2 separate regions of the Homo sapiens genome follow, and region 1 is linked to region 2. The links are contacts of gene promoters, found by promoter capture Hi-C in human tissues and cell types (Jung and others, 2019). All regions are on one chromosome and are shown on one strand. Each heading gives the region's core, a stretch centred on a gene start or on the middle of the fragment in contact. The rest is flanking DNA. Distances are from core to core; before and after follow the strand shown.

What was found. Contacts are between HindIII fragments. The study calls those that stand out against the background at their distance.
Region 1: the fragment with the promoter of SCNN1A here is called in contact with the fragment with the promoter of COPS7A in region 2 in 1 of the 25 tissues and cell types used here (hippocampus).

Annotation. Positions count from the first base shown.
Region 1 is chr12:6,371,535-6,377,797 of GRCh38, forward strand. SCNN1A (sodium channel epithelial 1 subunit alpha) reads right to left here and starts at 4,029. Exons shown (of 13, transcript NM_001038.6): 1 at 3,971-4,029; 2 at 2,834-3,303. The coding sequence starts at 3,249. It overlaps LOC105369626 (a long non-coding RNA gene), which reads left to right. Exons shown (of 4, transcript XR_931591.3): 4 at 1,621-2,041. It also overlaps a transcript of LTBR not described here. RefSeq lists enhancers at 2,436-3,040, 4,857-5,461. The HindIII fragment of the contact is 22,523 bases long and covers 1-6,263 here.
Region 2 is chr12:6,719,441-6,726,052 of GRCh38, forward strand. COPS7A (COP9 signalosome subunit 7A) reads left to right here and starts at 4,606. Exons shown (of 8, transcript NM_001164094.2): 1 at 4,606-4,739; 2 at 5,174-5,378. The coding sequence starts at 5,217. RefSeq lists enhancers at 4,531-4,740, 4,771-4,910, 5,041-5,260. The HindIII fragment of the contact is 8,117 bases long and covers 1-6,119 here.

The sequences.
Region 1 (6,263 bases), core at 2,779-5,278, 350 kb before region 2:
GGGTGGGGGTGAGGGTGGACGGTGGGGGTGGGGGTGGGGCGGGGGGCGGGGGATGATTTTTGAGTCCCAGTTTCACCACTTGTTGTCTGTCTGAAGTTGAGGCAGTTACTTAACTCTCTGGGACTCAGTTTCCTCATCCATAAAATAAGAGTCATCATGAGACCTACTTCCAAGGTGTGTTGTGAGAATTAAATAATTTAAAGCAGAATCATTTGATTTAGATTCATTTGTAAAAAGTCTGGCCCATAAATATATACAAACATTATTATTGTTTTTTTTTCCTTTGAGACTGTGTCTCACTCTGTGGCTCAGGCTGGAATGCAGTGGCGTGATCTCGGCTCACTGCAGCCTCGGCCTCCTGAGGTGATTCTCCTGCCTCAGCCTCCCAAGTAGCTGGGACTACAGGCGTGCGCCACCACACCTGGCTGATTTTTGTATTTTTAGTAGAGACGGGGGTTTCACCATGATGGCCAGGCTGGTCTCGAACTCCTGGCCTCAAGTGAGGGGCTCTTTTAAACAACCTTGTTTGAGCTCCATCCCAGATCCCTCAATGCCTGCCTTGGCCTCCCAAAGTGCTGGGATTACAGGCGTGAGGCACCATGCCCAGCGGTTATTTTTTAATTTAATAAATAAATAATGTATGTTCCCTTGCTCAAATTATTTCCTCTTGCCAAGCCTTAATTTCCTCATCTAAAAAAATGGGAATAATACTGCCCACCTCCCTGGACTTGTCAGTATTAAATGAGAGAGTGTCTATAAAGCACCCAGCTTTAGGGTGTAGCACATAATGTGACTACAAGGTCAAGTGTGTAGTGCTTGGTGGGTGTTGCATCTCCTCCCGCTGTGCTGGGGAGCCCTTCCCCGACTCCTCTCCTCTCCTAGGTGTTCTCTCCCTCCCGACTCCCACAGCAGCCCTTCAAGAAGGAGGGATTCTTTCTGGGCAGATGGCTGCCTCCCAGCCTGCAGGCCCCAGAGGCAGGGCTTATGGCTTCCTTTCCCCGGCTTTTTCCTGGACTGTCTAGGGCCCCGCATCCAGCAGAACCTAAGAACTGTGCAGGCCTCACCCGATTCACCCCTGCCCTCCCTTTCCATCTCTCACTGACATATTTTCAACCACAAATATTTATTGAGTGCCCACTGCCCCGCCTGCTGTCCTTCCCCTTCCTGCTGGGTCCCTCCCCTCCACCAAGGCCTAAAGGGGTGAAGATGTCTGCAGGCAGCAGGGGGAGAAAAATGAGGCTAAGAGGAAGGACCCAAGAGAGCTCTGAAATGAGGCGGAAGCCACATCTGACTGGAAGTTTCATTCACTCAAAGCCCCACATCTTGGGTATTAAAAAGAGGCAGAGTTTTGGGATTAGGCGTAAACAGGATGAGTCACAGCTCAGTCACTCTCTCTGTGATGTTGTGACTTGCCTCTCTTTGCCTTAGTTTCCTCAAGTGTAAAATAGGGATAACAATAGCACCGGGCTTGTAAGATGTGAGAATGAAATGAGATACCCAAGACACCTTCGCAGCGTCTGTGCACACGGCAGCTTCCTAAGGAAATGGTCCCTACCTGGGACATTATACAGACGTTAATCAACGAAATGACCTGGCTTTTTTTTTTCTCTCTCTCTCCAGGACAGGACGTCCCACCCTTTCTTAGTCCGTAACGCACCTTTGGACATGATGGAATATACGAAGGGGCCTCCACCCACAGCATGACCAATCCCCAGCATCCAAAATCGCACACATACCAATATGTGCACACACACACTCACACCCACACCCATAAAGATTTTGCACTCCTTGAAGGTACACTAACTCACCATTTTTATCATACTTATCCCAGTGTGCCACAGTTACTGGCTTATATGCCTGTCTCTGCTATCTTATTTTATCTGTCTCCACAACACAGCAAACTACCTGGCCTTCAATAAAGGGCTTATGAATTATTCATGAATCCATTTTGCCAGGTGCCTAGCCCTGTGTCTGGCTTGAAGCAGGTGTTCCCAAGGTGTGGCATGGCTGAGTGAATACAAATAAAAGGTATACAAAAGCACTCAGCCCTGCCCTCCTCTCTTCTCCACGCTTACCACCTGCTCCGGTTTCCAGACCCAACATTGGCAAAGAGCACCGATGAAACCCAAAAGTTCAGGACACACCCAAGCACGTAAAGGTCAGGCACCTGGGCAGGTCAACAGTGCAGCATTTTAGCCTGGGTCTTTTGGGGGAAGAGCTTCACAAGGAGCTGCTCTCTAGCCTGACCCATTCTCCTTGTTCTGTAAGGCCCCTGCCCCCAGCCTTTGGGCTCACTTGCAGCCCTAACCTCCACGATCCCCCTCTTTGCTTTCTCCATAATAAATTCCCCTTCTAAACAAAGACTGACAGCACCACCTCCACAGCACCTGCACGGTCTCGCCTCCCCTCACCTAGCCTCACCCCTCCATCAGACTCTCCTGCTGAGGTGGACGAGGTCTTATACTTTGCTGGCATCTTGCTCCAGAAAAGGGATGCAGCTGAGCACACCCCTGCCCTTTTGCAAGCACTCCCTCCCACTTGCAGGAGGGAGAAGGGAATGGGAGGGAAGGAGAAGAGAGGGCAGGGGAGGGCAATGCTGCTCCAACAACCACACTCTGGGTGAGCCTGGGGTGCTAGGATGGCTCCACTGGGCAGGGACGCCAGTCCAGTAAGCTGGAGGCTCCTCATTTTGCCAGCAGTGAGCTCTACCTGGGACAGGGGTGTCAGTTCCCACCCTCAGGTCTGAGGCTCTGCCTGCCCAGTGAGCACCTCAGCACCCTGGACCACCCTTCCAGGCGCAGGCACCAGGGAAGGGGCAGAGGGACTAACCGACCTGTAGGGATTGAGGGTGCAGATGGTCACTGCGGGGAAGACGAGCTTGTCCGAGTTGAGGTTGATGTTGAGGCTGACGGGGTAGCTGAAGTACTCTCCGAAAAGCAGGCCGAATTGCCAGTACATCATGCCAAAGGTGCAGAGCCACAGCACTGCCCAGAAGGCCGTCTTCATGCGGTTGTGCTGGGAGCACACCAGGCGGATGGCGCCGTGGATGGTGGTGTTGTTGCAGAAGAACTCGAAGAGCTCTCGGTAGGAGCGGTGGAACTCGATCAGGGCCTCCTCCTCCGCCGTGGGCTGCTGGGGCGCCGCAGGTTCGGGGCCCAGCCCCTGCTCCTCACGCTTGTTCCCCTTCATGAGCCCTGGAGTGGACTGTGGAGGGCTAGAGTCCTGCTCCTCCAGCTTGTTCCCCTCCATGAGACCTGGTATGGGCTGCAGAGGTCTAGGGTCCTGCTCCTCCAGCTTGTTCCCCTTCATGAGCCCCGGAGTGGATTGGGGAGAGCAAGGGTCAGGGTCAAGGCTGAGCTCTGGGCCCTGAGTGCCCTCTCCCATCACCCCTGGAACCCGAGTGAGGCTGCCCCTGGCCATGCCCATGTCCCACCCTGCGCCCACATTCTCCCACTCCTCCCTCCCTCCTCCACCTTTCCTGGAGCCAGCAGACCTGCGGGAGTTGGGGCCAAAAGTGCCGGAGCTGGGCTTCCCTAGAACGGCCTCTCCTCTGCTTCCCTGATAGGGCCACCTTTCGAGTTTTGTCCTAGCACCTCCCTTTCTGTCTCTGCCCCCTTCCTTTGGTCTTCTTCCTCCAGGATCTGTGTCTCAGCTCCTGCCTCTCACTCCCTCTCTATCTGCCTTCTGTTTCTCTTTGGGTCTCTCCTGCTCTCCTCTTTCTGGCCTGCCTCCTCTCTCTAATCCTGCCTCTCTTCCTCTCCCCCCCTTGCCTTGCCCCCTCTCACTCTAGGCCCTCAGCTCCAGCCTCTGGCCCTGACCTCGAGCTGTGTCCTGATTCTGTCTCTGCCCCAGGACTGCAGGGCTCCAGGAGGTCTGGGCTGCCTCCAGCTTCCCACTCCCAGGTTGCGGCTGGACTGGGACTGGTTCCTTTCCAGTTGAATCTGGCAGCCAAACCTCTCCTCCCCCTCACCTGACAGGTGCAGCGGCCTGGCTGGGGAGCCCGCCCGCTGGCCGGCCAGGGATGGAAGCGACAGGAATCTCATTAGCATCTCAATTAAAGGTGAGCAGGGCGGGGGGAGGGGCTGAGGAGGAGTCAGAGCCGGGAGTTTTCCGAAGGAAGGAGGGCTCCCGAGGGCAGGTGAACTGGGAGTACTGGACCTGAGAAGGCGGACTCTGGGCAGGGGCTTTAGACGCAGACAGGCAAGGAGGCTGGGGGACAGGATGGCAGGTGAGGGGCAAAGATCTGAACAAGTAGAAGGATCCTGAGCCCACAGCTAGGAGGGCAACACAAGGAGAAGGGGCCAGCCAGGCTGAGAGGGCCTGGGTGGGGAACCGGGAGGACAGGAGGGCAGAAAGAGGGAGACAATAGAGAGGGACAGCGAAGGACAGAGAGATAGGGATGGAGGAGGGGCACTGAGTGAGTAGAGGCAGGTGGGGGGCAGTGGTGGGGGCAAATAGAAGGAGCCAGCACCAAAGGGAGTCTGTCTCCAGGAAGGAGAGCAAGGGGGGAGTCCCAAGTGTGCTTCCAGGAGCTAGAGGCTCAGCAAGTGGGCAGCCCTCCAAGGGCACCCACAGGTCAGCCTCACCCTCAGGCCCTGCAGAGAAGAGAGAAGAGGTCTCTGCAGGTCTCCTCCCCGCTCACTAAGTGGGAGCAGCGCACTCAGGTGGGATGCGTCTGCCTCCTCCTGGTCCCTCCTCTTTCCTGCTGATTCCTCGCCACCCCCTCCAACCTTGTCCAGACCCGGGAGGGGCCCAGGTGAAGCTGGGGGCTAGGCGGGGCCCTAGGACATTCTGTTCTTTTTTACACTGTTGGCTGCCAGGCCAGGAATGTGTAATCGCCCCTGCTGTGGTCACAGAGTTGCAGGAATGTGGGCAACCAGAGGCAGCGCGAGGGCCACGCAGGACACTGTGGACACAGACCCGGAGCCCAGGAAGAGGCAGGGAAAGCAGGCACTGAAGGTGCAGGGAGGATGTGGCCAGCGCTGGAAAGGAAGAGGGTGGGCATGGCACACGCCTAGACAGGCCCTGGGAGGAGGAGAAATTCGTTGATGGGCTATATTTTCTCCAAAATCTCTTTCCAAACTTAATGCAGCAAAAGGATAAGGAGTGGAGTGCCAAGTGGTGAGCAAGGAGAGAGAGGAGGGTCAGAGAATCAGACCCAAAAAGGGCTGGAGGAGACTCGGGAGAGCCACCCACACAACCCAGGCCCTGCACGCGGCAGGGAAGGCTGCCGCTTCCTCACGGGCCCCACAGGAGGCAGCCCAGAGTGCAGGAATGTGGTCACTGGCTTGTCCTGCCTCCCTCCACAAGCCAGCAGACAAAGGCCCAGCCTGAGCATTGATACACACCGGGGGAGGAGATAGGCCTGCAATACAATAAGATAAGGTTTCTATTTGTACACTTTAAAAGATTGTCTTTAAAACGGACTTCTAACAAAAGTGCAGATCTCAGATTTCTCAGAGATAAGACATAAGAGCCAAGGGCTAGGGGAGCCTAGGGGCTCACTGCAGGAGACTCAGGAAGCCTTCCCAGAGAAGGTGTCATCTCTGCTGAATCTTGACAAGCAAGGAGTTTAGCAGGCAAAGAAGAGAAAAGGCAGTACTCCAGGCTCAGGGTCCAACCTGGTCTGTGGCTTCCTCTCTTGCGGCAGTCTCTTGCGACTTCTTAAAGTGAAAGCCGGTGTCAACCAGGATTCCAAACCAGGTTCCCTTGCTTACCTTGATACTGCTCATGATACCTCCCCTTGGAAGGGACAGCTGGATTTTTCTTCATTGTCCTAATGAAGAAACTGACCCTTCCCAAGGATAAATCAGTTTTCTGAGGTTAGAAAACAAAATAGGAGCAGAGCTATAAACAGAATTCAGAATTCTCCTCCTCCTCTGGGGCTATCTACTTAGCGCTTTTGCCATTTACTTCCTGAGACAGACTCATGGGGGATCGGGGCTCAGGTGCACCTGGATGTGAAAGCCGGGAAGGCCTCCCTCACTCCCACACAGAGCCCGTGGATTCGTCTGCTCTCTGGGTGCTGGGTTATCTCCTTGGCTCTGTGAAAAGGTCTCTGCACTGTCCCCACTGCCCCACATATCCCAGAGACCCCTAGAAACTCCAGTCTCCCTTGAGCCAGGTCCTTACATTGGGCATGGTCCTCCCTGCAATAAGGTGCTCAGCACCCTGGCTGTTTGATCTCAAAGGTTCTGAAAAGCACCTCCCTGCCTTTTCTATTTGCCAGCTCATGCCTGAAATCCAACCACTAGCTTAAGGCA
Region 2 (6,612 bases), core at 3,356-5,855:
CTTCTCATACCTCACATCTAATCAATTTGCAAATTCTGTTCACTTTAAGTTAAGTACAGAAACCAGGTCAGGTACTGTGGCTCATGCCTGTAATCCAGCACTTTGGGAGGCTGAGGCAGGTGGATCACCTGAGGTCAAGAGTTTGAGAACAGCCTGGGCAACATAGTGAAACCCCGTCTCTACTAAAAATACGAAAATTAGCCAGATGTGGTGGCACACACCTGTAGTCTCAGCTATTTGGGAGGCTGAGGCAGGAGAATCACTTGAACCCGTGAAGCAGAGGTTGCAGTGAGCTGAGATGGCACCACTGCGCTCCAGCTTGGGAGACAGAACGAGACTCCATCTCAAAAATAAATAAATATACGTACATACATACATACATACATAATCCAGCTATTTCTCTCTGCATCCGCCACTGATATCATGGTCTAAGTTATCACCGTCTCTTGCCTGCATCATTGCTGTGGCCTTCTAATTGGTCTAATTGGTTCTGCCCGTGTAGCCATTTTAATATGTTAAACGTGTGGGTCAGATGGTGTCACTCCTCTGCTCAAATCCTCCACTGGCCGTCCATCTCACTCTAAGCAAGAGCCAAAGTCCCTACAGTCGCCCATAAGACATGATCTGGACACCCTGCTCTCGCTCTACCTTGCCTCCTCTCCCCTTTCTCAATCAGGTCCAGCCACAAGGCCTCCTTGGTGCTCTTCAGACACATCTAGTATGTCCCCATCACGGGGCCTTTGCACTGGTAGTTTGCTCTGCTTGTGAAATTCCCATACAAATCCATCCAACTGGCTCCTTATCACCTTGTCAGGGAGGCCCTCCTAAGGACCTTAAATAACAAATGTCTCCTGCATTCCCCATCCCCCTTACCTTGTTTTTGTTTTTCTTCATATTTATCACCTTGTAATTATTTAAGGCCTGAATTCTACCACAAGAATACAAGTAGCAAGAAGGCAGGGATTTTGTCTACCTCTCCAGGAGCTAGAACAATAATATCTTTTGACTCAATGATAAATATTTTCTTACATGTTTGACTCTTTGGATGTCAGTCAGCTTTTCTAGCTTTATTTCAGTGCATCTTTTCTATAATTAGCATGAAAAACAGCACCTGGCACATACCCTTGTATATAACTGCCACTTAGTAACGAATGAATGAATGTTACCTCCAGGACTTTGCTTATATTTACTTAGTTCCCATCCTCTTCTTGGGACACCTTTATTTTTCTTCCCACTTTCTCCTCTTCTTTTCCCATTTCTACTCCTTTTTCTTATCTTTCTCACATTTCCTCCTGCTCCTCCTCTTCTCTCTCTAATCCTACTTCTTTAGTCCATTTCCTCTCCTGTCTTTCTCCAAACTCTCTTTTATCTCCTTACTCATTGTTCTCTCATATTCTCCTCTCACTCCTTTTTCTCCTATAGAACCATAAGACATCAGAACCCAAATTGGCCTTAACATCTAATCTCTCTTGGCGGATATGGAAGAGGAGATACCACAAAATGGCTTGATTTGCTTTAAGGTCACAGCTGGTTTAAGACCAAATCAGGAGTAAATCTCAGGTTATCTCTTTCTTTGTGCTCTCTTCTCTGTCGCTCTTTCCTTTCTGCTTTTTTCCTGCTTCTCTTTCTTTTTTTAAATGTTATTTATTTATTTATTTTTGAGACAGAATCTTGCTCTGTCACCCAGGCTGGAGTGCAATGGCACAATCTTGGCTCACTGCAACCTCTGCCTCCTGGATTCAAGAGATACTCCTGTTTCAGCCTTCCGAGGAGCTGGGATTACAGGCATGCGCCACCACACCCGGCTAATTTTTGTATTTTTGGTAGAGATGAGATTTTATCATGTTGGCCAGGCTGGTCTCAAACTCCTGATCTCAAGACCTCAAGTGAGCCACCTGCCTTGACCTCCCAAAGTGCTGGGATTACAAGCATGAGCCACTCTGTCTGGCTCATTTCTTTCTTTCTTTCTTTTTTTTTTTTTTTTTTTGAGACGGAGTCTTGCTCCGTTGCCCAGGCGGAAGTGCAGAGACAGGATCTTGGCTCACTGCAACCTCTGTCCCCTTCTCCTTCCTCAGGGTTCAAGCAATTCTCCTGCCTTAGCCTCCTGAGTAGCTCGGATTACAGGGGTCTGCCACCACGCTCTGCTAATTATTATTTTTTTAGTAGAGATGAGGTTTCACCATGTCGGCCAGTCTGGTCTCGAACTCCTGGCCTCAAGCGATCCGCCTACCTTAGCCTCCCAAAGTGCTGGGATTACAGTCCTGAGCCACCACGCCCAGCTCGCTTATCTTTCTCAATACAGTGTTGGAATCAGACAAACTTGCATTTAGATCTCAGTTTCATCACAGACCGGTAACCTTCAACAAACTATTTAACTTCTGTATTCCTAAGTGTCCTCACAGGTGAATTGAGACACTAATATGCACCTCATAGGGTTGCAAAGATCGAATAAAAATTTGAACAATCGGCCGGGTGCGGCGGCTCGCGCCTGTAATCCCAGCACTTTGGGAGACAGAGGCCGGTGGATCACGAGATCAGGAGATCGAGACCATCCTGGCTAGCATGGTGAAACCACAGCTCTACTAAAAATACAAAAATTAGCCGGGCATGGTGGCGCGTCCCTGTAATCCCAGCTACTTGGGAGGCTGAGGCAGGAGAACCGCTTGAACCTGGGAGGTGGAGGTTGCAATGAGCCGAGATTGTGCCGCTGCACTCCAGCCTGGGCCATAGAGCAAGACTGTCTCAAAAAAAAATAAATAAGATAAAAATTTGAACAATCGAGGCTGCAGTGAGCTGTGATCGCATCACTGCACGCCACCCTGGGCAACAGAGTGAAACCATGCCTCTAAAAAAAAAAAAAAAAAAAAAAAAAAAAAAGTAAAAAATGAACAAATAAAGCACTTGGCGCAAAATAGAACAAATACGGGTTATTTTCTCATCCCTTCATCTTACATGTTTTTCCCTTCTCTCTAAAAATGATAAGCTTGGCCGGGCGCAGTGGTTTACGCCTGTAATCCCAGCACTTTGGGAGTCTGAGGCGGGCGGATCACGAGGTCAGGAGATCGAGACCATCCTGGCTAACACGGTGAAACCCCGTCTCTACTAAAAATACAAAAATTAGCCGGGCGTAGTGGCGGGCGCCTGTAGTCCCAGCTATTCGGGAGGCTGAGGCCAGAGAATGGCGTGAACCCGGGAGGCGAAGCTTGCAGTGAGCCGAGATCGCGCCACTGCACTCCAGCCTGGGCGACAGAGCGAGACTCCGTCTCAAATTAAAAAAAAAAAAAAAAGATAAGCTTGGGGCGGGGAGGGGTGGATGCAAAATAATAATAATAATGTTTGGACTCATTAATTCCTTGCTTCCTTCAAACTCTGAATATTTTATTATGCCTTTGATTCCTTCTACTCACTTTTGTTTCACCTTTTCCATTCATTTCTTCTTCTCCTCTTCCTCCTTTCTCTTTCCTTTCTGTGTTTCTGCTTATTTTCTATCACAAACCAAAATATGCGGACCATAAACTGCATCTGCAGTTCCTTTAGCCCTAACAGACTACGAGTCCTATTTCTCTTTATCTTTCTCTTTTTCACTTTCTTGTCTTTCCATTACTTACAAGTTTCTTAATTTTCCTGAGTTCAGTTTTTCCATCTGGAAAGTGGAGATAACAATTACTAGATCGTTGTATCAGATGAATTAAGTAATGCTCATGGCTTAACACAAAGGCCAAGATGTCATTAACTTTACCCTCACTTGACCTTCTGCAAGCCTGTTGTGAAATATAAAACACTATAGAAATGTTAGTTGTTTTTGTTTTTATTAAAGTATCATATTGAAGTAGAAAGATGGTTTTGAGTTTGAAAAGCTCCAGATAAATCCTTGGATTTTTATGAGCCTCAATTTCCTTTTCTGTAAAATGAGAACCACATAGGGTTTTTTCCTCCCCAAGAAATTAAGAGTCCATGTACTGAAAGCATCATTCTACAAGTATTAATACATATGTAGTAATCATGGTAGAGGGTGTCCTGAAGTCACAGGGGAATATTTGTGAGGATTCAACGGAATAAAATTTTAAAAGATGTCTGACCAATAGTAAGCACTCAATACATGTTAGCTTTATTCTCTCTTTTATTTTTCTCGCTTCTTTTCTCCTGCTCTTCAAAAAAGTGAGTGGTTGAACCACCTAGGTGATCTCTGCTGCTAAACTTCTATTATTGATTTTTGTTTGCTTCCTCTCTGCCCCTTGTTTCCTCATCCCGTTTTTTTCCCTCTTCTTCACTCCTTCCGTTACAGCTTTTCTCTTGCCTCAGGTACCCAGTGCAGTCCTGATCTCCAGCTCTCCAGCGGCTTAGAACAGACACAGAATGGGCCGGGACCAGGGACCCACCAGAGACGTCTGTAGTTAATAGCTGGCGCTCTTCCACTAATAAAGTTTTATTGAAATAAAGCATTTAAAAAGGCGCCCGTCATTCTTCCCCCAGCGACCAATCGAAGAGTAGAATGCCTGCGTCCCTCACTGGAGCTTCAGCGGTCGGAACGCGGGGGTGGGGCATGTCCTGCCGAAATTTGCGTCCTTAGAGCGGAAGTACGGCCGGAAGCCCGCCATAGAGTTTAGTGGCCAGAGCGACTCTTCAGGGAGGTGGCAGGAAAGGCTTGGAACAGCTGCCGGAGGTGACGGAGCGGCGGCCCCGCCCGGTGCGCTGGAGGTCGAAGCTTCCAGGTAGCGGCCCGCAGAGCCTGACCCAGGGTACGACGAAGCAGTCGGCGGGAGCCCACGGTCGCTGGGCGGTGTCTTTAAGGGAGGGGGCGGAGCCACGTGTAAGCTTCAATGGGGGTGAGGTCACGTGGTTGTGGGCGCGTGCGGGGCAGCAATGGAGAGCTGAGGGAGCGTCGTCAGGGTGGACACCATGCGACACCCATTTCTCCTTTGCATCCTGTGTCTTGGGGTTCAATGGGGTGCACGTGATGGGGCTTGGGGTTAGGCCCAGGGGAGGGGGTGGGTGTGGCAGCCTTGCGAAGTGGCTGACTTTAGGATTCCTAGATCAGAATTTTAGACCGCTCCATGTCTGATTCCTCACCGCAGAACCGACTTAGTGCCTTTACAATCCAGTCCCTCAGCCTTGTGCTTCCCATCCGACCAGCCATCGGGGACCTCTAGCTTCACATCCTCTTTCCTTGCAGCTCTGGACATCCTGAGCCCAAGTCCCCCACACTCAGTGCAGTGATGAGTGCGGAAGTGAAGGTGACAGGGCAGAACCAGGAGCAATTTCTGCTCCTAGCCAAGTCGGCCAAGGGGGCAGCGCTGGCCACACTCATCCATCAGGTGCTGGAGGCCCCTGGTGTCTACGTGTTTGGAGAACTGCTGGACATGCCCAATGTTAGAGAGGTGGGTTGCTGGCTTGAATAGCCCTCAGAGAAGCGTGGGCAAAGGTTTGAATTTGAGAATGGGTGGGCAGGGCTCATTTTGTGATCCAATAACCATTCAGTTGAACAAGAAAACAGTGATAATTAAATGCCAACTTGCAGAAGTAACCAGTGAACAAGCAAACCAGCTCTCCTTTGGAGATAAGGGATCTGTAAAGCCCACTATTTTTCATTTTAAGCAAAAGAGCATCCTATTCAGAATAGGAAACCTGATTTCCAGCCGGTCTCCACCAGTGTAGTAGCTGTTAATTCTCATGTCACCTTGATCAGGTCACTTTTGTTTTAGGGCTTCAGCTTTCTCTTTTTTTTTTTTTTTTTGAGACGGAGTCTTGCTCTGTCACCCAGGCTGGAGTGCAGTGGCGTGATCTCAGCTGAGTGCAAGCTCTGCCTCCTGGGTTCACGCCATTCTCCTGCCTCAGCCTCCTCAGTAGCTGGGACTACAGGCGCCCGCCACCATGCCCGGCTAACTTTTTTGTATTTTTAGTAGAGATGGGATTTCACTGTGTTAGCCAGGATGATCTCGATCTCCTGACCTCGTGATCCGCCCGCCTTGACCTCCCAAGGTGCTGGGATTACAGGCTTGAGCCACCGCACCTAGCCAACTTTCTCTTTTAAAAATGGAGACAATACTGCCCCTCTCTGTTGTGGGAATAAAGTGAGATTATGGGAAAGTGTGAAGTCTGGTACAAGTGGAGAGTGAACATGTTAAATTAGCATGCCCTTTTCTTCCCTATGTGCAGCATATGCTAATCTATTCAAGTTAGCTAAGGGAGAACGTGTCTTTTTCCCAGAGACACATGGCAAACTGCTAGGAACACAGCAGAGAGAACCGTTCACACAAAAGTGGCAGAGTTAATTTACAATCAGAGGAGGCAGCCTGAGTCCTGACATGCTGACAGTGGTATGTGGGTAAACTGAGCTAAGTTATTTGGGGCCTGTGGTTTAACCTTTTGGATCACTCTGTGATATGGAGAAAACTGGCTGACTTTTCCCTGCTTTCATCTGCAGTGGAACTAAAGAGTATCAATCAAAGTGATGAAAAAGAAGCACTTGGCTGGGTGCGGTGGCTCATGCCTGTAATCCCAGCACTTTGGAAGGCCAAGGCAGGTGGATCACCTGAGGGCAGGAGGTGAAACCGATATGGCAGAATCCTGTCTCTGTTAAAAATACAAACAGGGCTGGGCACGGTGGCTCAT